7 separate regions of the Homo sapiens genome follow, and regions 1, 2, 3, 5, 6 and 7 are each linked to region 4. Evidence: promoter capture Hi-C in 16 types of primary human blood cells and fetal thymus (Javierre and others, 2016). All regions are on one chromosome and are shown on one strand. Each heading gives the region's core, a stretch centred on a gene start or on the middle of the fragment in contact. The rest is flanking DNA. Distances are from core to core; before and after follow the strand shown. Region 1 overlaps POLH (DNA polymerase eta). Region 2 overlaps RSPH9 (radial spoke head component 9). Region 3 has its middle 14 kb from the start of MRPS18A. Region 4 holds the start of SLC29A1 (solute carrier family 29 member 1 (Augustine blood group)). Region 5 overlaps POLH (DNA polymerase eta). Region 6 overlaps XPO5 (exportin 5). Region 7 overlaps MRPS18A (mitochondrial ribosomal protein S18A).

Region 1 (3,926 bases), core at 56-2,555, 630 kb after region 4:
ATTTAATTGTGCTATCTAATGTAGAAATGCTTAGATTACAGGTATTTAGACATATAAGTTTTCACAAAAAAATGGCAGCCAGCTTAGAAGACCAATTATAAGAGAGCTCAATTTCTCCTTCAGAGTGTTCCCGCAGCTTAGCTTCAGCATAGGCTGAATTTTATAGTGCTAATGTACGACAAATATTTTGTATTAATATCATCTTTCATGAGCAATGATTTTAAAACACATTTTTGGCCAGGCACGGTGGCTCACGCCTGTAATCCCAGCATTTTGGGAGAGCAAGGCGGGTGGATCACCTGAGGTCAGGAGTTCAAGACCAGCCTGTCCAACATGGCAAAACTCCGTCTCTACTAAAAATACAAAACTAGCTGGGCATGGTGGTGCAGGCCTGTAACCACAGCTACTCAGGAGGCTGAGGCAGGAGATTCGCTTGAACCCAGGAGGCGGAGGTTGCAGTGAGCCGAGATTGCGCCACTGCACTCCAGCCTGGGCGACAGAGCAAGACTTCATCTCAAAAATAATAAAAATAAAAAAAAATAATGTAAACACATTTATCTCCCCAGTTCTCTTGAATTTTCTTTCTCCTACTATATTTAATCACTTAAACATCTTCTCCAAGAATATTTTTTTCAATTAGAAAATATTCAGAATTAACTCAAGCTTCAATATAAGCTTTAACATTTACATGTTTTTAGAGGTGGATTCCAGCTGAGTAACTTAAAATCCACTCCGAGGCACTAGATTTATTCCCTTGATAAGCTGTTTTAAGTCAGATGTTGCTTGGGACTTAGGACCTTGAAAATATCTTACTCTGAGTACATACAAATCTTTATCCCCAAATGTACACTCTAATCCCTTAGCTCTACCTCCCTACAGAAGAACTTTTCCTGACTCCCTACAGAAGAACTTTTCTTGAATTTTTAATTATGGTTTCCAACTAAACATAACTAAAATCAAACTTTGTCTTCCTTCTCAAATGTTCTTTCCAACCAACTCCCTATTTCTATTAAGGGCTTAAAATCCACATTAATATTGGCTTATTTTCTCTTTCATTCCTCATTATGCAGCCATTTAGTCAACAAAACCTACTTTAAAATATTTCACATATCCACTGCAACCCACCACCCTATTTTATTCAGGTTTTTTCTTTTTTCTTTTTTTTTTGAGACGAAGTCTCACTCTGTCACCCAGGCTGGAGTGCAGTGGCATGATCTCGCCTCACTGCAAGCTCTGCCTGCCGGGTTCACACCATTCTCCTGCCTCAGCCTCCCGAGTAGCTGGGACTACAGGCGCCTGCCACCACGCCCAGCTAATTTTTTGTATTTTTAGTAGAGATGGGGTTTCACCGTGTCAGCCAGAATGGTCTCGATCTCCTGACCTTGTGATCTGCCCGCTTTGGCCTCCCAAAGTGCTGGGATTACAGGCCTGAGCCACCGCGCCTGGCAAGCTCTTACCCCTTAACTCTGTTCTTCTTTCCTTTGCTTAAACACATCTATACTTTAGGGCTTATGGCAAGTTTATCTATTATGAAGTCCTCTCCTTCAACTATTCTAGCTAGCTTTCTAGTACCACATTAAAGTTCTTTACCTTTTATCTGTAATATGAAGTAGACATAATTGTTTTATTTTTTGAGACAGAGTCACACTCCGTCATCCAGGTTGGAGTGCAGTGGCATGATCTTGGCTCACTAATATATACTAGTATACATTATTTTAAATGATGGATGTTTTAATAGTATTCATTGTTCTTAATATGTGCAAGCCTTGGTGTTTCAGGAAAATAGGTAATTTAAAAAAAAAAAGAAAAATACATGCAAGCCATTGTGCTGAGGAACTTTATTTTATTTATTTAATTATTTATTTTTGAGATAGAATCTCGCTCTGTTGCCCATGCTGGAGTGCAGTGGAGCGATCTCGGCTCACCACAAGCTTCACCTCCTGGGTCCACGCCATTCTCCTGCCTCAGCCTCCCGAGTCCACGTCATTCTCCTGCCTCAGCCTCCCAAGTAGCTGGGACTACAGTCGCCTGCAACCACGCCCGGCTAATTTTTTTGTATTTTTTTTAGTAGGGATGGGGTTTCACCATGTTAGCCAGGATAGTCTTGATCTTCTGACCTCGTGATCCGCCTGCCTTGGCCTCCCAAAGTGCTGGGATTATAGGCATGAGCCACTGCGCCCGGCCAAGGAACTTTATTTTTAAAAACTATCTTTTGGGCCATGTGCGGTGGTTCACGTCTGTAATCTCAGCACTTTGGGAGGCCAAGGCAGGCAGATCACAAGGTCAGGAGTTTGAGACCAGCCTGACCACCATGGTGAAACCCCGTCTCTACTAAAAATACAAATACAAAAATTAGCCAGGCGTGGTGGTGCACACCTGTAATCCCAGCTACTCAGGAGGCTGAGACAGGAGAATCACTTGAACCCGGGAGGCGGAGGTTGCAGTGAGCTGAGTGACACTCCACCTCAAAAAAGAAAAAAAAACTAAAAAAAAAAAACCTGTCTTTTGGCAGGGCATTCTCTGCCTCCTGAGCTCAAGCGATCCTCCTACCTTGGCCTCCCAAGTAGCTAGGACTACAGGCAGATGCCACCACGCCCAGCTAATTTGTATTTTTTGTAGAGACGGGGTTTCACCATGTCACCAAGGATGGTCTCAAACTCCTGGACTCAAGCAATCCCCCCCCATATGCCCCCCACCTCCCCAGCCCCCAGCCTTGGCCTCACAAAGTGATGGGATTACAGGTGTAAACCACCATGTATGGCCATAAGAAGTAGAGCATAATTGTTAAAAGAACATTCTGCAGTCAAGCAGGGTTCAAATATTGGCTTCATAACCTACTGACCATGTGACTTTGGACAAGTTACATAATTCTCTAAGCTTCAATTTCCTTGTCTACAAACTGCACTTCATATAGCTGTTATGAGGATTAAAAGATAGTTTATTATTTTTTATTTTTTTTGAGACGGAGTTGCTCTGTTGCCCAGGCTAGAGTGCAGCTCACTGCAACCTCCACCTCCCAGGTTCAAGCAATTATCCTGCTTCAGCCTCCGGAGTAGCTGGGACTACAGCTGTGAACCTTCAGGCCCAGATAATTTTTGTATTTTTAGTAGAGATGGGGTTTCACCATGTTGGCCAGGCTGGTCTTGAACTCCTGACCTCAAGGGCTCCCAAAGTGCTGGGATTACAGGCGTGAGCCACTGTGCCCGGCCAAAAGGTAGTTTTTAAAAATAAAGTTCCTCAGCACAGTGGCTTGCGCATTTTTTGCTTTTTTTTTAATTATCTGTTTTCCTGAAATACCAAGGCTTGCACATATTAAGAACAATAAATACTATTAAAACATCCATCATTTAAAACAATTTATACTAGTATATATTAGCTTTGGGAAACAAAAATATGAATAATTTACTGTAATTGTATGACTTTCTGGACCTTTTTAAACAGTTAGAGCTAAATTTTCTCTGCTTTAGATTTTTTTCATCATTGCTTTCCCAGATTGGGTAATGTTGCAATCCTGTGGCAATGTAGATTTTTAAATTTAATCCTTTATCTGTATTAACTGAACGGGACCACAGAAGATAAGCAGAATTCCCTTATTTCCCTACAATGCTTTTTACCTTTTCTCTAGTTGATAAGAAAAATCTATAAAATTTTGGTTTTTCTTCAATACCATGAAATGGACTACAGGAAATACTTCAGGTAGTTCTGGTGTTAAATGCCCATGAAAGCTGAGAAAAAACTTTTCTTTCTTTCTTTTTTTTTTTTTTTTTTTTTGAGACGGAGTCTCACTCTGTTGCTAGGCTGGAGTACAGTGGCGCAATCTCAGCTCACTGCAACCTCTGCCTCCTGGGTTCAAGTAATTCTCCTGCCTTACCCTCCCGAAAAGCTAGGATTATAGGCATGCGCCACCACACCCAGCTAATTTTTGT
Region 2 (3,918 bases), core at 911-3,410, 570 kb after region 4:
ACCTGTAATCCCAGCTACTCAGGAGGCTGAGGCAGGAGAATGGCGTGAACCCGGGAGGCGGAGCTTGCAGTGAGCCGAGATGACATCACTTGCACTCCAGCCTGGGCGATAGAGTGAGACTCCATTTCAAAAAATAATAATAATAATAAATAAAAATAAAAGTAAAAAGTAGAAATACAAAAATTAGCCGAACATGGGCCGGGCGGGGTGGCTCACGCCTGTAATCCCAGCACTTTGGGAGGCTGAGGCAGGCGGATCACGAGGTCAGGCGATTGAGACCACCCTGGCTAACACAGTGAAACCCCAACTCTATTAAAAATACAAAAAATTAGCCAGCCGTGGCGGCGGGCGCCTGTAGTCCCAGATACTCAGGAGGCTGAGGCAGGAGAATGGCGTGAACCCGGGAGGCGGAGCTTGCAGTGAGCCGAGATCGCACCACTGCACTCCAGCCTGGGCGACAGAGCGAGACTCCGTCTCAAAAAAAAAAAAAAGCCGGGCATGGTGGCCGGTGCTTGTAATCCCAGCTATTCAGTAAGCTGAGGCAGGATAATTGCTTGAACCCAGAAGGTGGAGGTTGCAGTGAGCCGAGATCACACCATTGCACTCCAGGCTGGGTTACAAGAGCGAGACTCCATCTCCAAAAAAAAAAAAAGACTTCAGTGGAGGAAGTAACTGCGGATGTGGTGGAAGAAGAAAAAGAACTAGAATTCAGAAGTGTAGCCTGAAGATGTGACTGAATTGCTGCAACCTCATGATAAAACTTGAATGGATGAGGGGTTGCTTCTTACAGATGAGCAAAGAAAGTGGTTTCTTAAGACGGAAGCCACTCCTAGTGAAGATGCTGTGAACATTGTTGAAATGAGAACAACAAAGGATTAAGAATATTACGTAAGCCAGGTTTGGTGGCTCAGACCTGTAATCCCAGCACTTTGGGAGGCTGAAGCGGGCAGATCACGAGGTCAAGAAATCGAGACCATCCTGGCCAATGTGGTGAAACCCCATCTCTACTAAAAATACAAAAATTAGCTGGGCATGTCTGGGCATGGTGGCTCACACCTGTAATCCCAGCACTTTGGAAGGTCGAGGTAGGCGGATCATAAGGTCAGGAGATTGAGACCATCCTGGCTAACAAGGTGAAACCCCGTCTACTAAAAATACAAAAACAAAGATTAGCCAGGCATGGTGGCGGGCGCCTGTAGTCCCAGCTACTTGGGAGGCTGAGGCAGGAAAAATGGCATGAATCCGGGAGGTGGAGCTTGCAGTGAGCCGAGATTGCGCCACTGCACTCCAGCCCAGGCGACAGAGCAAAGACCCTCCACCAGCAAAAAGATTATGATTCGCTGAAGGGTCAGGTGATCGTTAGTATTGTTACGAAATAAAGAATTTTTAATTTTTTTAACATTTTTAGACACAATGCTATTGCATACTTAACAAACTATAGTATAGTACAAACACAACTTTTCAAAAAATGTGTGACTCACTTTATTGCGATGTTCACTTTATTATGGTGGTCAGGAGCCAAATTTGCAATATCTCTGAGATATGTTCGTTTCTTTTTTTTTTTTTCTTTTTTTTTTTTTTTTTTTGAGACGGAGTTTTGCGCTGTTGCCCCAGGCTGGAGTGCAGTGGCGCAATCTCAGCTCACTGCAACCTCTGCCTCCCAGATTCAAGCAATTCTCCCTACCTCAGCCTCCTGAGTAGCTGGGTTTACAAGCGTGTGCTACCATACCCAGCTAATTTTTCTATTTTTAGTAGAGACGGGGTTTTGCCATGTTGGCCAGACTGGTCTCGAACTCCTGACCTCCAGTGATCTGCCCACCTTGGCCTCCCAAAGTGCTGGGATCACAGGCGTGAGCCACCGCACCCGGCTGGTGTGTTCATTTTCATTTGAGTCCTTACTATGTGTTAGGCACTGTTATAAGCATTTTGTGCATGAGTTAACTCATTTAATTCTTGCATCCAAATACTCACCAGGCCTGACCCTGCTTAGTTTCCAAGATCAGAAGAGACTAGGCACATTCAGGGTGGTATAGGAGTAGTCCATTTAATTCTCATAACTCGTTGAGGTAGAAAATATCAATTCTCCCCTTTTTAGAAATGAGGAAACTGAGGCACAGGGAAATGGAGGGATTTGCATGAAGTCACACAGCTAGTAAGTGGCCAATTCAGGATTCCAACCCAGCCTGTCTGATTCCACAGCCCTTGTCATCCCCATCCCCATCCTGAGATACCCCCCAGTTGGGTCGCTTGCTGCTCTTCAGAAGTGTTTCCCCCTAGAGGTGTGGGTGACTATTGTCCTGTGGTTCCTATTGTCATTTAAACTATTGTTTACTTAACAATCCAGTTCATGCCAGAACTGTGGAGTCTAACACTTTAACACTTACTGTGTCCTTGGGTTTAACTCTCTGAGCCCCTGTTTCTTCATCTGTAAAATGGGGATAAAAATAATAGGCTGGCTGTGAAGATTAAAATGAGATAAGGCATGGCAAGAGCTGAGTACGGTGCCTGACACATGATAAGCAGTGTCACATTTCATGAGTTAGTTGTTATTGTTGTCATTATCATTGCCATCATCATCATTAGATCCCTCTCATTCTCAGGAACACCCAACAAGGGAAGAGAAAGAAGTGGGGCGCTGAGTCTGTGCCTTGGGCCTGGCCCCCGATGGCCTAGAGCCTAGAACCTGAATTGGGTCATAGAATCCAAGGACATGCTCTTCTCTACCAGAGATGCTCAAGGGAAGGAAATGGGATCAGCACCACCAGCTATGGGCCAAGCATTATATCCAGTCCCTAAATACCAGAATCCCAAAAGTAACAGTTGAGATGTAAGTATGGCTAGTATTTTCAAGGATATTTGGGAGAAGATTCCCAACCTGCCCCCATTCAAGATTGCTACAAAAATCAAGAGACATTGAGATACCTCCTCTCTGTGAAAGCATATGGAAAACAATCCTACCTTTTGTAATTCAAGGACACTCATCAGTGTGTACTATAAGCTGGGCCCTGGGGAAGCTCCACCCTCAAAAACCCATGGTGAACCACCAATTCCCACTAGGCCCTTGGTTCCAGTCTCAGAGGAAAATGGCAGGTGGCATGGCCCACTGCTATGGCCTGAGGACAGATCCCATGGCCTCCAGGTAATGGACTATTACCTTTGGGAATGTCATGCTCCAAGGAGTCCATGAAATCCAGGGAGGGGTCCAGGTCAGCCTTCTCAAGCAAGGTCTTATTCTTTAGCTCAACAGGCTCCCTGAAATGGAAGTAGGAGCTGAGCTTCTTGGCCTCAGACAAGGACAGTCCTAGAAAGAGGTGGCAGGCAGGAAAATGATGGTTAGCCCAAAACCCCCCAGCCCCCTTTCTGTCTGCACTGGGACCACATGGTAGGGCTTACAAAAGACCCTGTCAACCACTGTCAGAGAGCTAAAGGAAGGAAAGGGATTAGCATTCCCTCAGTCCAAACTCGGACCAGATCCTGCCACAAAGAGAGTCCAGCCAGGCACGATGGTTCATGCCTGTAATCCCAGCACTTTGGGAAGCCGAGGCAGGCAGATCACCTGAGGTCGGGAGTTTGAGACAAGCCTGGCCAACATGGCAAAACCCCGTCTCTACTAAAAATACAAAAATTAGCCGAGCGTGGTAGAGGGTGTCTGTAATCCCAGCTACTCGGGAGGCTGAGGCAGGAGAATCGCTTGAACCCAGGAGGCAGGGGTTGCAGTGAGCCAAGATTGTGCCACTGCACTCCAGCCTGGATGACAAGAGCAAAACACCATCAAGAAAGAAACAAAGGGAGGGAGGGAGGGAGGGAAGGAGGGAAAGAAGGGAAAGAAGGGAAAGAAGGGGAAGGAAGGAAGGAAGGAAGGAAGGAAGGAAGGAAGGAAGGAAGGAAGTCCAAGGAGGAAGGAGATAGGAAAAGGCA
Region 3 (3,651 bases), core at 486-2,985, 520 kb after region 4:
TAGGGATCTGGGCCAAATCCTTTAATCCTTTATAATTAACGCACATGGAGATGTCACGGCGCAGAGAGAAGTGATTGCACAGGGGCACACAGGAGGGCAGTGGCTGAACCTCTGTCCTCCAGTGCCCAAGGTAGGTCTTCTTCTGCACCCCCAGCCCCTTCCTCCATGTTGCTGTAGGCACTGAGCTGGCAGGCTGCTAGGCCCACATGGATCTTACAGGTCTTGGCTCAAGGCTGGCTTGGAGGAAGATCCCCAGGACAGGCTAACTGATCCCCCTCATCCCAACGTGCCCCCATTCAAGCAGCTCCACAGGCTGGATGCCTTAGGGCAGAGCCCAACCTGGAAATTCTCCAGGCTTGGACACCACCCTGGATTTAGACAGAGCTCAGGGAGACTCAGGATGGGTGGGGCTTGGGGCAAAACACCACGGGAGTTGTGCCACAGTCACAGGCAAAAGAGCCGGGGCAGGCCCAGAGGCTAATTTCCCTGACCCCGCCCTGTGGGGCCTGTGTACTCCCCTCCTCCTCTCCCCACCCTCTGATGACGCACTGACCCCGGCCCTCCCCCTCAGTTCCCTCACCCCTCATTGGGAGGTGACGGAAATTCATTTCTGGCGGCCTGAGGGCTGTCAGCAACTTGTTTTCATTCTAGGGTCTGGCTGGTCCAGATAGGTCCATCCGGGCCCTATGTCACACAGGGGACACACACACAAACACACACACACACACACACACACACAAACACACACATTCACACACCCCAAACAGAACCTCTGGAGGAAAAGAAGGGAGGCACTCCAGGGGTTCTGAGTCACGGGATTCAGGGCATTCATAGCCAAATGCCACTCTTGGGAAAGCGGTGGAGCAGTTCACAAGGAAAGTCAAAGAGGCTGGACAGGGAACCAGTTCTCCTGTAGTCTTCCTCCGCTCTCCTCTAGCCCAGTGGTTCTCAACCCTGGCTGCACATAGAACCATTTAAGGAGCCTTTAAAAAACGCTGCTGCCTGGGCTCCAGCCCTGAGAGAGTTCAATTCAACTGTTCTGTTTAACTCCGGGGAGAGGCCAGGCCATCATCTTTTAATTCCCTGGTTGATGCTGATGAGCAGCCAGGAATGAGAGCCCTTGCTGATGGAATCATCCAGGCAGGATGGATTCACTCCCAATCTCACTGGGCAGATGGTCAGGGGAAGAGTCTGCCCTTTCTGTTGGAGAGGGGAGGGAGGTGTTGCAGGCAATATACCCCAAGACCTCATCTTCATGTCCATCATCAACACAATTCAGTAAAATGGTGGTTAAAGAACAGGAGCAGGTGCTCATTCTGGCTCTCCCCTTTCGTCACCTCGGACAAATTACTTGGCTTGTCAGAGCCTCAATTTCTTCATTCATAAAATGGAGAGAATAGTTGCCACCTAGGAGGTACTTGTGACAATTAAATGATTAAGTCTACACAGTCCTGAGCACATAATAAGCAATCAATAAAAAATAGGCTTTAATAATAAAAAAATGAAAGCCGGTTTGTACACCTATGTTCATAGCAGCTTATTCACAACAGCTAAAAGGCAGAAGCAACCCAAGTGCACATAAGCAAAATGTGGTTCGTACATGCAATGGAATATAACCTTAAAAAGGAAGGGAATGGCCAGGCGCAGTGGCTCACACCTGTAATCCCAGCATTTTGGGAGGCCAAGGTGGGTGGATCACTTGAGCTCAGGAATTTGAGACCAGGCTGGGCAACATGGTGAAACCCCATCTCTACAAAAAAATACAAAAAGTAACGGACATGGTGGCACATGTCTGTAGTCCCAGCTACTTGGGGGGCTGAGGCAGGGGGATCACTTGAAACCGGGAGGTGGAGGCTACAGTGAGCAAGATCATGTCACTGCACTCCACCCAGCCTGGGGGACAAAGTGAGACCCTGCCTCAGAACAAAAAAAAAAAAAGGAAGGGAATTCTGACACTTGCTGCAATATGGATGAACCTGAGGACATCATGCTAAGTGAAATAAACCAGTCACAAAGAGACAAATACTGAGTGATTCCCCTTATATGAGGCACCTAGAGTCATCAAATCCAGAGACAAAGTGAAAGCGTGGTGCCAGGGAAAGGGGAAGAAGAGGGAATGGGGAATTTGTGTAAATTAATGCAGAGTTTCAGTTTTATAAGATGAACAGAATTCTGGAGATAGAAGGTGGGGATGGTTGCCTAACAATATGAATTTTTTTTGTTTTGTTTTGTTTTGTTTGTTTTTTTGAGATGAAGTCTCACTGTGTCACCGAGGCTGAAGTGCAGTGGCGCAATCTCGGCTCGCTGCAACCTCTGCCTCCCAGTTCAAGCAATTCTCCTGCCTCAGCCTCCTGAGTAGCTGGGATTACAGGCACCCGCCACCACGCCCGGCTAATTTTTTTTTTTTTTAGATGGATTCTTGCTCTGTTGCCAGGCTGGAGTGCAGTGGCACGATCTTGGCTAACTGCAACCTCTGCCTCCTGGGTTCAAGCAATTCTCCCGCCTCAGCCTCCTGAGTAGTTGGGATTACAGGCACGTGCCACCACGCCCAGCTAATTTTTGTATTTTTAGTAGAGACGCAGTTTCACCGTGTTGGCCAGGATGGTCTCGATCTCTTGACCTTGCGATCCTCCCGCCTCGGCCTCTCTAAGTGCTGGAATTAAAGGCATGAGCTACTGCACCCAGCCAATTTTTTGTATTTTTAGTGGAGACAGGATTTCACCATGTTGGTCAGGCTGGTCTGGAACTCCTGACCTCAGGTGATCCACCCACCTTGGCCTCCCAAAGTGCTGGGATTACAGGCGTGAGCCACGGCGCCCAGCCATATGAATGTATTTAATACTACTAGAGCTATACATTTAAAAATGGTTAAGATGGGCTGGGCGCGGTGGCTCATGCCTGTAATCCTAGCACTTTGGGAGGCCAAGGCAGGCAGATCACCTGATGTTGGGAGTGCAAGGCCAGCCTGACCACCATAGAGAAACCCCATCTCTACTAAAAATACAAAAAATCAGCCAGGCGTGGTGGTGCATGCCTGTAATCCCAGCTACTTGGGAGGCTGAGTTAGGAGAATCGCTTGAACCCGGGAGACGGAGGTTGCAGTGAGCCAAGATTGTGCCATTGCACTCCAGCCTAGGCAACAAGAGTGAAACTCCATCTCAAAAAAAAAAAGTTAAGGTGGTAAAATTTATGCATATTTTGCCACAATTTTTAAGTTGGAGAAAGAAATAAAATAAATAAAAGACAAAATTAGCAATCCAGTTGCCCTGAGTGACTCTGTACTCCTAGAAAAGAGTGGACATATGGCCCTGGCTTCAGGCCTCCCCTTCTGAGATAGACACCAGGGGACAGATGCTCAATGAATGAACTCAGGATTTATGCTGATAATAAACAGGAAATAATAGATCGGTTTAAATATTTACATGGTGGTGTGCAGGCTTCAGGGCAAGGACATTACCAGGGAGGGGAGTGGGGGGTCAGACAGAAGACACAAAGAGAATGTAAATGTTAGTGGAACATGGGGCTGAAGCCACCCAGACGTGTCTTTCAAGCGCACTCAGGAAGAGAGGGACAACTGCAGGAGGGGAAAACCCCTGCCCAGGCTCAGGGAGTCTGCCAGAAGCCTGGGCCACCCCGTTCCTTCCTTCCAGG
Region 4 (3,531 bases), core at 1-2,500:
GATACCAGCTCAGAGCATCTGGTGTCCCTCCAACTATGCCTTGGCCTGCTGAGGTGGGCCCCTGAAAGTAGCCACCAAATTGAGTACCTCCCTGCCTCCAGACTCCCAACACCTCTCCTGCAATTCTCCACTCCCAGGATTTCATATGGGGCTAGCCACTACCTGCAGATCTCTTGTCTTTTCTTCACAACCACCCATAAGCTAGTACTAGCACTGAATAGATGGGGCCAGCTGAGGTTCAGAGGGGTTGAGTCACTTGCCTGAAGTCACAGAGCTGGTGAGTGGAGGAGCTAGAATCCATATTAAATGTTCAAGCTCCTTTTGGAATGGAGAGAGGTATAAAAGCTGCTTCTCAGTTAGCCCTGTAGACTGGGAGGTGGGGGGAACTCTGATTCAACTAAAGGGAAAAATGAGGTGGAGACCAAGATCATTCCCAGCCTGACTTGAGTGTCAGGCAGCTCAGCCCCGCCCCATCACACACATCCTGGCATGGGGAGCTTACACAAGCAGGAGGAAAGTTGGAGGGTCTGGAGGCCACCGAGAGGAGTAGGCAAAGGGACTACCACAGGGCTGCAGAGAGACCCCTAGAGGTGTGAGGGCAGGGTTGGAGCCAGCCTTGACCTACGACTGCTCTCTCCTGGTAAGCAAAGCCGAGGACTGTTTGTCTTCACCCTCTCATATACCCTCACAGTAAATCAGTAAATGAAGACGTGCGCAGGAAGGAGACGCCAGGGATACGAGTTTAGCCAGTAAAAGACCGGGGTTAAAGAGACAGCCCCGCACCTCCGCTCGCGAGCCTGCACCTCCGCTCGCGAGCCTCCATCCCCATCCCCATCCCCATACCCCTCCGCCAGCGCAGTCAGCGGCACGGCCCCTCCCTGATACCGACCAGATCGATGGGGATCACCCGTCCACTCGCCTGCCCCTTGCGGAGGTCAACGTGACCGCAGCCTGTTTTAGGCCCGGGAGCCAGGCCGCCCCGCCCAGCTTGGGTCCCGGTCCCCGCAGGGTCCTCAGGCTCCCTGGCCCGTGCGCGCCACGTGCTGCGCGGCTCCGCACGCTCCGCACTGGGGCCCCACCCGGCGTCCCTTCTCCGGGCTGCGGAGCCGTCAGGCCCGCCCTCCCTGCCCTCCGTGGCAGGCGGGCAGCGGCGTCTTCCGCCCCGGCAGTCCCCAGTCCCCAGTCCCCGGCCCCGGGCAGCACCTGCCGCAGAAGCACTGCTCCCGCGCTGAGATCCGCGCGCTCTCGCTGCAGCTTCCCTCTCCCGCCGGGGCACATTCAAACCCGCCCTCCGCTGAGCTCGCCCCGCCCTGCGCCCACTGCCACCTCCCCGACGCCCGCGGCCCCGCCCCCGGCCCACCCCTGCCACCCCGCGGCGACTCCGCGCGCTCCGCCGCTCCCACCCCGAGCCCCTGCGCCCCCAGGGCCGCCTGGTCGTGTTATTGCGGTAGATAGGACCTCTTTGGGCCCTGCCACACCAAGGCTGTCTGTCCATCGTGTGGGGTACATGGGGCTGGAGGGTACAGCCACACATTAAGGACCTGCGCAGACTCCCATAAAATTCATCTCGGGACTGTTCCATTTACACACCCGCTGCTCAGACCGGCCCCGACGCTCCACGGCCCACTCCACCTCAGATATTCCGTTATCCCTTCCCAAGCCCTGCCCACGCCGCGCTTCCTCCACACTGCACCTTTTTCCTCCCAGCGCCCTCCCTTTCAGCGCCCCCTTCTTTCTTTCAGTCCCCCTCCTCTTCTTTTCCTTCAAAACTGCTTCTGTCCCCACCGCGCATTTTCTGTGACCAGCATGATGGGTTTTCCCATCCCTGACACATCCAGTCCCAGCCACAGACGCGCAAACACCACCCCACTCACAACTTTGACTTGGAGGGGGTATGTGCCTCTGCCTGTGCTTGCGTGTGCGCGCGGAGGGGGGTGGGGCAAAGCCCTCCAGCTCCCTCATAATTCACCCTTTCTAAATCCAGCACTTTGGAAAACTGAGGCACAGGTGGGAATGGGAAGAGAAAAAGCTAGGAACAGCCTTATATCCTCAGTGAATCCTATTGTCCCAGCCATCCTGACAGGCGGAAGCCTTGCTGAGTATGTCTTTCACTAGCTAAGGAGGAAGGTGTGGGCGTGCTGAGGGGTGGTCCAGCAAGTCCCTCCAAGGGAGGGGGAGGGAGGCCCTCTCTTTGGTCGGGCAATAAATGGGGTGGGGTGGGGGGCACTCCCTGCCCTTCCAGCAGTACTCAGTGCTAGAGGATGATCCTAAGGCTGGAAAGGTCCTGAGGAGAAAATCCAACCCACGCTGCCCACCCCATGCCCACTGACCCGAAGGGCTTGTCCCCTAGAGAAGCCACAGACACTGATTAACAACTGGCAGTACCTCACATCATAGGGATAAGGTAGTCCTACCCTGTCCCCAGAGAAACAGACAGGGCCCTAAGGAGAGAGGTGGCTTTTCTAATTAGGGTCAGTGGCTCTCCCCAAGCTACTCCAGAATGGGTGTCCCCAGCCTTCTGTTTCCATGCCCCACAGAGATGACACACATATTCCTTCCCAACCCTCCCCCACCCCACCCCCATCCCCCACATCCCCGCCAGCCCTAACCAGAGGGCAGGAAGATGGGTTTAGGTGGTATTTTTCCAGGCACAGCCCCATGACTTGAGAGTGGCTTCATGTCTGTCCACAACCCCCTAATTCCTGCCCTCATGTTTGTCCAGTCTCTCTCTCTTCCTCTCCTAGCCCTCCTCTGCCCTCTGCCTTGGCCCCCTTCCTCGCTCCCCACCCTCCTTTCCTGGTCTCTGGGTCTGTGGGGGTGGCAGGGCTAGTGGTCAGAAGATCTGCCAGGCATGGCAAGGCTGGTGGCCAGTGGCTGCAGTTGTGTACAGAGGGGGCTGGAGGTGGAAGAAAACTGGAGGGAAGTGGTGAGGGTCTCAGGCCAGACTGGGAAAGGCTGGTTCCTCTCCCCACCCAAACTGGGGCCCTGCCAGCTCGGTGGATGGCAACAGCCAGGGCTGTTATTGTTGGAGAGAAGTCCGTCTGGCATCCATCCTGCTGGGCCCCTAGCCAACACCCACACCCCTCTGTAGCCACCTCCCAAGCAGAGGTTGCTGGGTGCCAGGGCCCCCTGCTGGACAGCCTGGGAGCCCCAACTTACACAGGCCTTGCCTGGAGTTTTTCTAGCCAGGCCTTGCCAGCTCTCTTCAGTCTCTGCCTGGTCTTCTGGCTTCTCTCCCTCCCTGAGCTCCCTCAGGTCCCTGTCGAAGGGGTGGGGTGGGAAGGGTTGGTCCTGCTGCACCTCTACTCTACACCTTATTCACCACCCTATATGGGACCGTGGCTTGGCCCAGACTCCCTCCCCAACTTGGCAGGCCCCATGCATGCCTCACCACCTCACACACAGTCCTCTCTCTCCCCAGGCATGTGTCCTCTCAGCTGTCACCAACAAGTCATGTGTGTTTGCTGGAAGTGTGTTTGCTTGGCCTGGGGGTTGGTAACCAGCACATGTCTCATGACTGTCTGTGTTCTC
Region 5 (3,882 bases), core at 1,328-3,827, 600 kb after region 4:
ATATACTCAAAGACATCCTGGCCCAAAGGAGGAGACCCTGGAATTGAACGGAACCCATTTAAAGGACATGCTTATTTGCAGATTAGGCTTTCACTATCAGAAGAGCTGGAGAACGGTAGTCTGTTGGCTTTGGAGGGAAGAAACAGTATTGCTGCCTATTGGGGAATCTCCAGGCCCCTGAGAGAGAAGTGTGGGTCTTGAGCTCCAGGAAGAAAACTAGAGTGTATTCAACTGACTTCATCTCACACAGGGAAATGAGAGACGTCACTTAAGACTCTTCTTTCTTTCTTTCTTTCTTTTTTTTGAGACAGAGTCTCGCTCTGTTGCCCAGGCTGGATTGCAGTGGAGCGATCTTGGCTCACTGCAACCTCTGCCTCCTGGGTTCCAGCAATTCTCCTGCCTCAGCCTTGAGTAGCTGGAATTACAGGCGCCTACCACCATGCCCGGCTAATTTTTGTATTTTTAGTAGAGATGGGGTCGTCACCATATTGGCCAGGCTGGTCTTGAATTCCTGACCTCAAGTGATCCACCTGCCTCAGCCTCCCCAAGTGCTAGGATTACAGGTGTGAGCCAACGCGGCTGGCCTAAGACTCTGCAAAGCAGAGAATGAAACCCAAGGGGATAACTTGCTCCTTCAGTGATTAGGTGTTCGGTGTTGTTAAACCAGCAAGTGTCTCTCTGTCCACCATCACTGCTGGCCTTTTATGAAATTAGTCTTCTGATTCTGAACTCTGGCAGTGAGCCCTGTTACATCCAAGTCAGAATTTAGGGTTCTTCCCCACTTGAGGGACTCAACCCTAGAAGGGAAGGAATGCTCTGGGTGATCCTAATAGAGAAGTAGGTATGGGGACCTTGGCTGACACTGTGCCACCTGCCCTCTGGGCTGCAGTGGGATTTGCCGTGAGGGGGACCAGCTGGTGGTGGGCCCCACGGATGATGGCTGCTTCCTGGAGCTGAGAGTATGCAGCATCCAGCGCAACCGCTCTGCCTGTCGTGTGCTGCGAGCTGGTCAGGCTGCTACACTGGCGCTTGGGGACTTTGACCGTGCACTGCTTCGCAAGGTGAGGTGGGTGCATGGGTTGGGGAGGGAACGCTAAGAGAAGTGCCTAGGAGACTGGCTACTGAATGAGCACCTATCTAAGGTGCTTCAGAGAAACTCAGAGGAAACACACTCTCTGACCCAAGAAGCTTCTGGTCTAGCTACGTAGACTATAAAAACAGCTTAACGTACTCATGAGGTACAGATAACTAAATATGAATCACTATGTTACACTGTTTTTAATGAACACTATTTTTAGTGTTCAGGACCCTAAAAATGTGAAGCGTTAGATGGGCTAGAGGACGTAGGAGGTGGGTAAAGACTCATTCCCTCTGAGAGTTTTGATTATTGTCTTTTGAGGTCTTTGTGTTTAGAGTTGTGTAGAGGAAGAGGAAATTCAGGAGCTATAAAGGGTGTGGGGTGGCTGGGGAGGGAGAGTCTGATGTTAGAGCTGCCCTTCCTGGGCCTGGGGTCTGTTCCTCCCCAGGGCATGGTGATGGTGAGCCCGGAGATGAATCCTACCATCTGCTCGGTGTTTGAGGCAGAGATAGTCTTACTGTTCCATGCCACCACCTTCCGACGAGGATTCCAGGTGACAGTACACGTGGGCAACGTACGTCAGACGGCAGTGGTGGAAAAGATCCATGCCAAGGTGAGAGGGACCTGGCCTTCCATTTCTCCAGAGGTCAGAAAAGAGGGAGGCCTGCCCCAGACTGGCAGAGAACTCCTTGATCCCACAATGGGAATAAAACCCCACTTAGGGTGGGTAGCGGCCTGATAGGCCTCTGGAGGGTGGAGAGCCACGGCTGGCAGAGAATGGGACAGAAGGCACTGGCCAGGGGAGTGACCACTTATTTGCTGCAGGACAAACTGCGGACAGGCGAGAAGGCAGTGGTACGTTTCCGCTTCCTGAAACACCCAGAGTACCTGAAGGTGGGCGCCAAACTGCTGTTCCGGGAGGGTGTCACCAAGGGCATCGGCCATGTCACTGATGTACAAGCCATTACAGCAGGAGAAGCCCAGGCCAACATGGGCTTCTGAACCCTTCAGGCAGGGACAGTTCTATTGCTGTCCCTACAATATATAAGGTGACTTCTGGCCATGCTGCCCTGCCATTGGCGGCTCTGTGTGTTAATAGGCTAGGGAGAGAGGGGTGCTGTCTGCCACTTGCTCCCTGCCAACTTTCTGGAGAGGTGCCAAACTTGGTGTGGCCAGGAAAGGGCAGTCCTGAGGGAGAAGACAGGATTCAGGGCAGTGCTCCGAAGCTGTGTGCTCACCTGGTTGGCTCATCAAACCTGGCAACCCTGTGGCCTGTCTGCCGGAGCTGACTGGATCCACTCATCAATTCTTCGTCCCCACTACTAAGACTGGGCATGTTTTGCTGGTGTGGTCTCTGCACTTCAGGAATGGTCACAACAGGGGGTAGCCCTCAAAAGCACTCCTTTTTCTATACCTCTTCTCAAGGCCATGTAAGTTGCCCATCTCTACCTGGCTGTGGACAAAAGGTTATCTGCTCTTGGCCATCTGGTGGTGGTGGCGGCCCAGAGTCTGAAGAAATGGCACAGGGACAGTGAATGGTAGTGTTGCCACCCTGTGCTGAGGCCTGAGGCCTCTTCCTCAGCTTTATCTCCCTTTCCTTCACTCAAGGGCCATTTCCCCAGTCCCTATCTCCCCCATCCCCTCCCGGCTTATAGGCCCCACAGGTGCTATTTGTTGTGCTGGCCCAGGCGTGGGGCTACCAAGCAAAGGCTTGGCATATACCAAAGGCCAGCTGCATGCCCATCAGTCTGGTCTTTTTCCTCTGCGGTCATGTTGGCTTTCATGCTGGATCAAATGTTTTACTTTCCCAGACTGGTGGCATCTGAGTTCCCCATCCTACCACTCTCACCCCACTTTCCTGCCCCACCTAAACCCTCGTTTTAGTAATTTGTAGTGACTGTTCCCTTCCCTCTGTTGCAGGGAACCAGGAGGAAAGGGAAAGATGTTGCCATATTTCCTACTCTTTAGGCATGGACTCTCCTTTCCCTTTGTTAGTGTCCTGGGTTCCCATGGACTCAGGGATTTGTTGGCTAAGGTTTCTCTGTGCATATATATATATATACATATGTATATATATTTAAATACACATATATATTGTACAGAATAAAAATGTTTTATTGAATACACTGTGCTTATGCGTTAGCTACAGGCTCAGCTTCCTTCCAGGGCTAGATACCTCTTCAGGATTAGAGACAAGTGAAACCCCAACACTGCTGAGCCCTGAATGTGGAAAGAGCCCAGCTGGTATCTCGTTCACCATTGTTTTTCTCTCCTCCACATAGGTTCAGAGTTCCAGTATTGTAACCAAGTATTGTGGCCTATTTTCCGTAGTTCAAGTGAGCAGAATACTGAGGCCTTTCACGTGAAATAGGTAGCTACCCTGTATTTGAAGAGTTGGCCACTTGCTAGTGGTCAGAATAGTAAGGAGCCCACTTCTGTGCCCTGGCAGAGATACAGTGCCAGCTACTTAAAGAAGAGTAGAATTTAGAGACAAAAGGTAATCTGGTCCCATATTTTTCAAGTTTACATAGCCTAAATTACTCTTGGAACAATGAGGGCCACTTGACCAAACCTTAGTCCCTGCTCCTGTTTCCATGTTCATACTACTTGATTTTGACATTTTATGGGTAAATAGGGGCCAAAGTCAACTGTAAATAGAAACTGCATTTTGAGGAGACCCTGGAAAAGAAATATGTGACCCAAAGTCCTATGTGGCATTCTGCCTCTAGAGTATTAAAGTGATAGCTTCCCTACCACTCAGGCTGTTTTATAAAATGTAACTGGTTTAACTTGCTACTAACAAG
Region 6 (3,648 bases), core at 962-3,461, 650 kb after region 4:
TGACCGAGCTCCAGCCCCTCTGGTACCCTTATGCTTATATGCTTTAACATCTCGCTAACTTTCGTTTGTGTCTTGGACATTTTCCGGGGAAATTCTCGCACCCCTACTTCTCCCATGTTTTTGAGTGTAATATTTTTAGGCTATTTTGCGCAAAGATAACTTCTACCACTTACTTTGCATTTTAACAAGGGCACTTTGGTTTCCTGAAAGTAGTTTGCGTGAGACCCGAATGCTCTGCTCTTGGGACTGACTTATGTTGCAGTTTGGGGGTGTTAATACAATTCAAGCTTACTTGCCCATAAAACAACGTGTGTGGGCTGTGAGAAATGGCCATTTAGGAGAAAATACTTGTGCTGTACATTTTTAAAGTGATGTTAACTTCAAAAAAGAGAGTGACCACCACTTGGAGGAAATGTTACAATATGTAGATGTCTGCCACAGGGTTTGGAATCAGAAACAATTGGGTTCCATTAGTTTGGTTTTTATTATTAATATTTAAAATAGACACAAAAGTGGAGAGAATACGACAGTGATTCTGCATGTTCCTGTCACCTAAATTCAGCAATCAAAGATTTTACCGCATTTACTTTTTCCACCGCCTATCCTCTCTCCCTGCCTCGAAGGTTTTTAAAAGAAACCCTAGAAATTGTTATTTCACCCCTATGTACGTCAGGGGGATGTCTCTAACAAATAATTTCTTATTCCTTTGTGTCCATTTTTTTCCAACACTAGTAGGGCTACTGTTGGCCGTAGCATGGAAAAAATCTGGAACCATCACGCTGGAAGGAATGTTTATCAGTTCTTTATTCATAATATATATATAATATATACACATAAAATAGAGTGAACACCACTTGGAGGAAATGTTATATATGTGTAACTTTTATATATTTTATATTTTTATTTTTATATTAAATATATATTTTTAAAGCAACTGTGCTTGGAGATCCACATAATATTGATCTAGGTTTTGCAACTTTAAACATATAGCTTAGGTTGGAGTTTCTTTTTGAGTAGGGTCTCACTCTGGTTGTCCAGGCTGGCGTGCAGTGGTGAGATCTCGGCTCACTTCAGCCTTGATTTCTCGAGCTCAAGTGATTCTCCTACCACTTCAGCCTCCTGAGTAGCTGGGATTACAGGCACCTGCCACCATGCCCGGCTAATTTAAAAAAATATTTTTAGTGGGCCGGGCACAGTGGCTCACGCCTGTAATCCCAGCACTTTGGGAGGCCAAGGCAGGTGGGTCACCTGAGGTCAGGAGTTCAAGACCAGCCTGGTCAACATGATGAAACCTTGTTTCTACTAAAAATACAAAAATTAGCTGGGTGTGGTGGCGTGCACTTGTAGTCCCAGCTACATGGGCTCAGGAGGCTGAGGCAGGAGAACTGCTTGAACCTGGGAAGCAGAGGTTGCAGTGAGCCGAGATCATGCCATTGCATTCCAGCCTGGGCGACAGAGTGAGACTCCGTCTCAAAAAAAAAAAAAAAAAATATATATATATATATATATTTAATAGAGATGGGGTTTCGCCATGTTGCCTAGGCTAGTCTCAGACTCCTAGACTCAAGTAGTCCACCCATCTCAGCCTCCCAGAGTGCTGGGACAGGTGTGAGCCACCGCACCCGGCCCTGGTTGGAGTTTCTTAAGATGAAATTCTTTTAGTCCCTATTCTCTCAGCCCTCGAAAGGAAACACTAACTTTTCTTCTTTCAGTTTTGTGAGGAGTTTAAAGAAAAGTGTCCTATCTGTGTCCCCTGTGGCTTGAGGTTGGCTGAGAAAACACAAGTTGCCATCGTCAGACATTTTGGCCTTCAGATCCTGGAACACGTTGTCAAGTAAGGAGCTCTTGGACATTACCACTGAAGTCTGAGAGAACAGATCTTTATATCTTATATAACCTATAGAGATGCTGTTTAGGTGAGTAGAGAAGAGCAATCTCCAAGAAGAGAGGAATGATCCCCTAGATGTTATCAGAACCTCACAGGAGCTCTCATTCAAGATTTAACCTTTCTTTTCTTCAGTTTCTTCATCCATGTAAAGTGTGTGGTACATATTACCCATTCAACAAATATTACCTGCCATTTAGCCAATACTTACTGAGCTCTGACTATATGTCATTAGCCCTCGAAGCCTTTTTAGAGTAATGCAATGTATAGGTCAATGAATCTCTGATTAGGCACTGTGGCTTTCTTTTTTCTCTCTGTCTTTCTGAGTTTGTGTGCCTTCTCTGGGTGGTACATCCAAAGCAGGATTGTATGAGAATAACTGAAAACCCATCCTAACTTGATTGTCCTACCCTCAACACCTATCAGAAGAGGTAGCCTTTAAGACTTAGCCATAGTTTTTCCAGAATTGTTTTGTAAGCCAGCACAGAAAATGACTGATGTCAAAACTGCATTTTCTGAAAAGCAAGTACATTGTTGCAGTTGACCTAGATGTATATTCACTTTTGGCCCATCAATAAAATCATGAGGCAAAGCTGACGTGTGGTACAAATCTTGTGCGGATTCCAGTTAATGGACCACTGCATATATAAAACCTTTTCCCAAGAATTTTTGTGTTAGTATTTTGGTTAAATGTAGATCATTTTTGCCCATTCATTGACAGGTACAAAATCAAAAGTATAATTTCTTAATGAAATCTCCAGTGTAATCAAATGTAGAAATCCATGCTATTCTCTTGTAAAGACAAGACTTCTAAAGTGGTTCTATTGACTTTATGCATTTTGGTGGTCAGGTTTCGGTGGAACGGCATGTCTCGATTGGAGAAGGTGTATCTGAAGAACAGTGTCATGGAGCTGATTGCAAATGTAAGGAATGGGTGGTTGGGAGACATGTTTCCAAGGTAGTTTAGGCAAAGCGTGACTTCTTCAATAGGGAGTTTGTGTAAAAATTCACTGCTTCTAAATAGGTCAGACAGCACAAGAAATCATAATTTAGGCCAGGCACAGTGACTCACACCTGTAATTCTAGCGCTTTGGGAAGCCAAGGTAAGAGGATCACCTGCATCTAAGAATTCGAGAGCAGCTTGGGCAATGCAGTGAGACCCCATCTCTACCAAAAATGCAAAAATTAGCTGAGCGTGGTGGCGCATGCCTGTGGCCCAGCTACTCAGGAGGCTGAGGTGGGAGGATTTTCTGAGCCCAGGAGGTCCAGGCTGCAGTGAGCTGTGATGGTGCCATGGCACTCCAGCCTGTGCAACAGAGCAAGACCCTATCTCAAAAACAAAACAAAACAAAAGCAGAAAGCATAATTCAGCATATGTCTCTTACTAGGTTTAATTAATCATGCTTATGTATTGACTTCTATTTTTTAAATTATAAAGACAGGGCAGAGGGGATTAAATATTTTCAACAAATCAATAAGATTCTTAGATCTAAATTAGATTGAAACACTATTTTCTTTTATTCCAAACAACTACTATGTGATACTAATGATGAAAAACATGCAGAATTTTAAGTATGCAGAATGAATTTGTTTCAAGTATTAGAATATGACTTTTTTTTTTTTTTGAGACAGAGTCTCTGTTGCTCCGGCTGGATTGCATTAGCATGATCATAGCTCACTGCAGCCTCGAACTCCTGGGCTCAAGTGATCTTCTCGCCTTAGCCTCCCAAGTAGCTGGGATTATAGGCATGTGGTACCATGCC
Region 7 (3,570 bases), core at 1,055-3,554, 540 kb after region 4:
AAACTTTGGAGGTACCGGCTCCCCAGGCGTGCTTAAAAGCCCCTTCCACACCCTGGTGCCTTATCTTGATCTCCTGCCCCTTGTGAGTATCTTCACAAGGCGGAGGAGGACGGAGAGAAAAGCCTGCTTACTTAGCAGGAGCAGACACTAAACCTGTCCTAGGGCTCAGAAAAGTTTTCGGAAAGGGTTTGCATGTTAATTCTTCCTTCCATGTTCTCCGAATCGCAGTCTCTTTTATTAAAGAGTCTCTGGATCACGAAGGAAGGCCATCTGGGTACCCTCCCAGAGCCTCCCTTTCCACTTTCCCTTCTCAAAATGCTGTGATCTGATGGCGGCGTTCTCTGCCCCGGGCCGCTAGTCTCCCTGTGAGGGGGAGGCCAAAGTGGAAAGGCCATTGAATAGCTGAGACATAGGCAAATGCAGGATGGTAGTTCAGCTTTTCATTAATCTTAATCTGGGAAAGCGGCCTGATTCGAGCATCAACTGAGAGTTTACTGAATGCCAAGTGCTATGCTTCAAGCTGTGAAGGAATTCTGGAGACAGAAAATACAGCCCTTTTTCTGAAAAGCTTAGGTTCTAATGAGATTATGTATATACACACTCCAATAAATGCAAGTTAGCCTTTTACGTGACGAAGTACAGGGAGACTCAGTTACTGGAAACGGCAAACCCAGTTGGAAGTTTTCATAAAGAGGATGTGTCTTGAGCAGGCTCACAAAAGGATGGAATCTGGCGGAGAGTGAAACGGTCTTTTAGGACATAGCCTTCCTTTGTGTACTCCTGGAAGCAGGAAAGGATGAGTGATGTGCAAAAGAAGAGATGTGGGGTTTTTTGAGGATCTGGCATAGTATTGGGCAGCATATCCTTTAACGAAAGCTGAGAAGTATCCAGTGGAAAAGAGTGATCATTGTTGTCAGAGGGAGCAGAAAAGTCTAAAAAGGGCCTAATGAAGGGGCCATTGGATTTGTCTCAGAAGAGGTCTCTTTGTAGCTTTCAAACAGCAATTTCAATAGAGTGGCAAACAAGGAATCCAGTTTGGAGAAATGAAAGAGATAGTTGATGAAGAGATGGAAATAGTAAGTATGTTTGAAGAATTTAGCCCGTAAGGGAAGTGGAGCATTTGCTAGAAAAAAAAGTCTGGATATTGCCTGATTAACTTATCCATTAGTAGACCCATTAATAAAGACACTAAAGAAATCATGCAGATGATAGAGAGGACTTGGATGTTTCATTTGTTCCCATGCTGCAAAATAGGCATATCTCCATACCATTTTGGGGAGTCTACCAAGTGTCAAACACTATTGGCTACAATTTGCATATTCTTATGAAATTCAAAGTTGAGGCAGATTTTGCTATGCTTCCAGAAAAAAAGGCAAGAGGAATCGTTTTGTTTTAACAACAAATATTTGAAGTTAGACTTAATTTTTTCCTTTGGAGAGTTTGTGAAATGATGGACTGTAAGCCAGGTACAGTGGTACATATCTTTAATCCCAGCACTTTGGAAGGCCAAGGTGGGAGGATCACTTGAGCCCAGAAATTGGAGTCTAACCTGGGCAACGTAGTGAGAACGCCCACCTCTTTAAAAAAAGTAAAAAAGGATGGACTGTAAATCAAATGGGTCTCTGAAGTCCTTCATCTAAATGTTAGGTTGAATTAATATGATTCTACATGAAGGCACTACCATATTCTATATTCTTAAGAATCACCTATCTTCAAAGCTTGTAAATGAAAACATTTTCTTTTGCTAGTCTATGCATTATGTGTAAGGCATAAAGTATTATACATATAGCTAATTTTGACTAGTCTCAGCTGGTATATGTGACACCCAAACAATATTGTACACATAGAATTTAAAGTTGTGGGAAAGAAGCTGGTTCTCTTGCTGAAAATATTCAGGCATCCTACTTTTCAAAGTATCAGATAATAATACATAATTTTAGTCAGCTCTTGAGGACTGAGCACCAATTTTCCTGTCTATGAAGACTTTCAGTCTAAAACAGTGATTTTCAACTGGGGGGCAATTTTGTCCCCCAGTAACAATTGGCCATGTCTGCAGACATTTTTGGTTGTCACAACTGGTACTACTGGCATCTGGGGGGTAGAGGCGAGGGACGCTGCTAAACATAATGCACAAGTCAGTTCCCCACAACAAAGAACCATCTGGCCCAAAATGGCAGTCCTGCTGCTGTTGAGAAAGCCTGGTTTAAAGTTTGACCAGAGAGATACACAAAGCCAAAAAAAGGTTATTATGGGAAAAGCAAGACTGAAGGAGGACGAAAATAGAAATTGTGACTTACTGTGCCTGCTTCAAATACTGTGCTAGGTTTTCCACATACATTTATTCAGTCTTCTCAAAAACACCTTAAAGGTAGATATTAACTGTCCTCATTTTTATAAATGAGGAAATGCCGTTCCAAGGGGTTTAATAGCTTGCCCAGCATCACCTGTCTAATAAGTGATGGAGTTGGAAGTAGAGCCAGCCCTCTTCCCTCTCCACCAGTAACATCACCTTGGTATTCCATGGCAGGGCCTCCCTTATTGTTCCCTCCTTCCCTGAAAGCTCTTAGCAGTTAACTTGCCAAAGACCATTTAGTGCCATTATGGTTGGCACTGCCAGATTTAGCAAAGACTGTGTTGGATCTCATTCCTCCCTTATCCCTCTTAGAGCCCTTGTGAAGGAAATGTATTTAAAATAAAAAAACAAACATATTATTATATAAATTAAGACATGATTTGTCAGACACTTAGAGAAAGGTATATTGAAGTGAGTAAAGGCCAAAGGGAATTTGCTTCATCTCTTTCACAGTCAGTTAAGAAGGCCTTCTGGAAGACCTAACGTTTCAGACAAGGGTATGCCTGGCAGGTTGGGCAGTCCCATATAAAAGCTTTGAGAGAGGAGTGAGTTGGAGTCTTTAAAGAATTCAGGGGACATAGTCCAGAGTAACCTGCTAGTGGGAAGAAATTTTTGTGCAGCAGTAAGACGACTCATTCTGAAGCATAGGGCAGAGGGACATTCCCTCAGGGGTCCAAGGGAAAGAAAGGGGGAGGTGATGAGGGAACCAGAAACTTTAATGGTAGAGTTAAAGATGAACTGGAGGAAGCAGGGCTTGAGGCAGGAAGGTGTTTGCAAAAAGTTGTCAGTGGCCAGAAATGCAAGCACACATCCCAAACATGGCACACCTCTCCCTGACCCTACATAAGACTATTAGGGCCACTGCCCAGCCATCAGTTACTCCAGTCTTTCCTACTCTGCTTGGGCCCTGGTTTTTACAGATCCTCTCCAAGAGGGACCTTGGTCTCTGGGCACTTCAGCAGTGCCCTGCACTCCTCATCTTTTTTCACTTCCTCTTTTATTAAGCAGTTGAGTCTTTACATGGCTGCAGTTCACTGTGTCTGTTCATGTGGCCATCAAGGTTTTTTGCATTTTCTGTGTTTGTTGTTGTTGTTGTTGTTTAAGAGACAAGGTCTTGCTGTGTTGCCCAGGCTGGCCTCTAACTCCTTAGCTCAGGTGATCCTCCTGAGTAGCTGAGACTATAGGTGTCACCCCATCTCCTCCTTTTGCATTCACTG

What was found. Contacts are between HindIII fragments. The CHiCAGO score rates a contact against its expected background, and 5 or more counts as called.
Region 1: a fragment that was not itself captured here is called in contact with the fragment with the promoter of SLC29A1 in region 4 in 1 of 17 cell types (erythroblasts); the score reaches 5.2 in erythroblasts.
Region 2: a contact is called between a fragment that was not itself captured here and the fragment with the promoter of SLC29A1 in region 4, in 3 of 17 cell types (monocytes, activated CD4 T cells and naive CD8 T cells). The highest score is 7.8, in monocytes.
Region 3: a contact is called between a fragment that was not itself captured here and the fragment with the promoter of SLC29A1 in region 4, in 1 of 17 cell types (activated CD4 T cells). The highest score is 5.3, in activated CD4 T cells.
Region 5: a fragment that was not itself captured here is called in contact with the fragment with the promoter of SLC29A1 in region 4 in 1 of 17 cell types (erythroblasts); the score reaches 6.1 in erythroblasts.
Region 6: a fragment that was not itself captured here is called in contact with the fragment with the promoter of SLC29A1 in region 4 in 1 of 17 cell types (erythroblasts); the score reaches 6.0 in erythroblasts.
Region 7: a fragment that was not itself captured here is called in contact with the fragment with the promoter of SLC29A1 in region 4 in 2 of 17 cell types (naive B cells and M1 macrophages); the score reaches 6.3 in naive B cells.

What each region holds. Positions count from the first base shown.
Region 1 is chr6:43,593,724-43,597,649 of GRCh38, reverse strand. The region is part of intron 4 of POLH (DNA polymerase eta); the gene reads right to left. Among named protein-coding and RNA genes, the nearest start is that of POLH, 20 kb to the right of the region's middle. The HindIII fragment of the contact is 1,256 bases long and covers 678-1,933 here.
Region 2 is chr6:43,655,960-43,659,877 of GRCh38, reverse strand. RSPH9 (radial spoke head component 9) reads right to left here. Exons shown (of 5, transcript NM_152732.5): 4 at 3,155-3,301. Among named protein-coding and RNA genes, the nearest start is that of RSPH9, 13 kb to the right of the region's middle. The HindIII fragment of the contact is 7,215 bases long and covers 1-3,918 here.
Region 3 is chr6:43,699,811-43,703,461 of GRCh38, reverse strand. No RefSeq gene overlaps it. Among named protein-coding and RNA genes, the nearest start is that of MRPS18A, 14 kb to the right of the region's middle. RefSeq lists a silencer at 371-470 and an enhancer at 1-558. The HindIII fragment of the contact is 6,909 bases long and covers 1-3,651 here.
Region 4 is chr6:44,221,314-44,224,844 of GRCh38, reverse strand. SLC29A1 (solute carrier family 29 member 1 (Augustine blood group)) reads right to left here and starts at 1,250. Exons shown (of 13, transcript NM_001372327.1): 1 at 1,204-1,250. RefSeq lists enhancers at 171-320, 563-1,421 and a silencer at 1,011-1,410. The HindIII fragment of the contact is 15,932 bases long and covers 1-3,531 here.
Region 5 is chr6:43,619,812-43,623,693 of GRCh38, reverse strand. It overlaps POLH (DNA polymerase eta), which reads right to left. Exons shown (of 11, transcript NM_006502.3): 11 at 3,171-3,882. GTPBP2 (GTP binding protein 2) reads left to right here. Exons shown (of 12, transcript NM_019096.5): 10 at 890-1,061; 11 at 1,527-1,691; 12 at 1,904-3,200. The coding sequence ends at 2,080. Among named protein-coding and RNA genes, the nearest start is that of GTPBP2, 7.5 kb to the left of the region's middle. The HindIII fragment of the contact is 2,773 bases long and covers 1,191-3,882 here.
Region 6 is chr6:43,571,666-43,575,313 of GRCh38, reverse strand. It overlaps XPO5 (exportin 5), which reads left to right. Exons shown (of 32, transcript NM_020750.3): 2 at 1,713-1,834; 3 at 2,736-2,808. Among named protein-coding and RNA genes, the nearest start is that of XPO5, 2.5 kb to the left of the region's middle. The HindIII fragment of the contact is 3,844 bases long and covers 290-3,648 here.
Region 7 is chr6:43,683,994-43,687,563 of GRCh38, reverse strand. The region is part of intron 1 of MRPS18A (mitochondrial ribosomal protein S18A); the gene reads left to right. Among named protein-coding and RNA genes, the nearest start is that of MRPS18A, 2.0 kb to the left of the region's middle. RefSeq lists enhancers at 1-14, 1-19, 3,407-3,456. The HindIII fragment of the contact is 1,167 bases long and covers 1,721-2,887 here.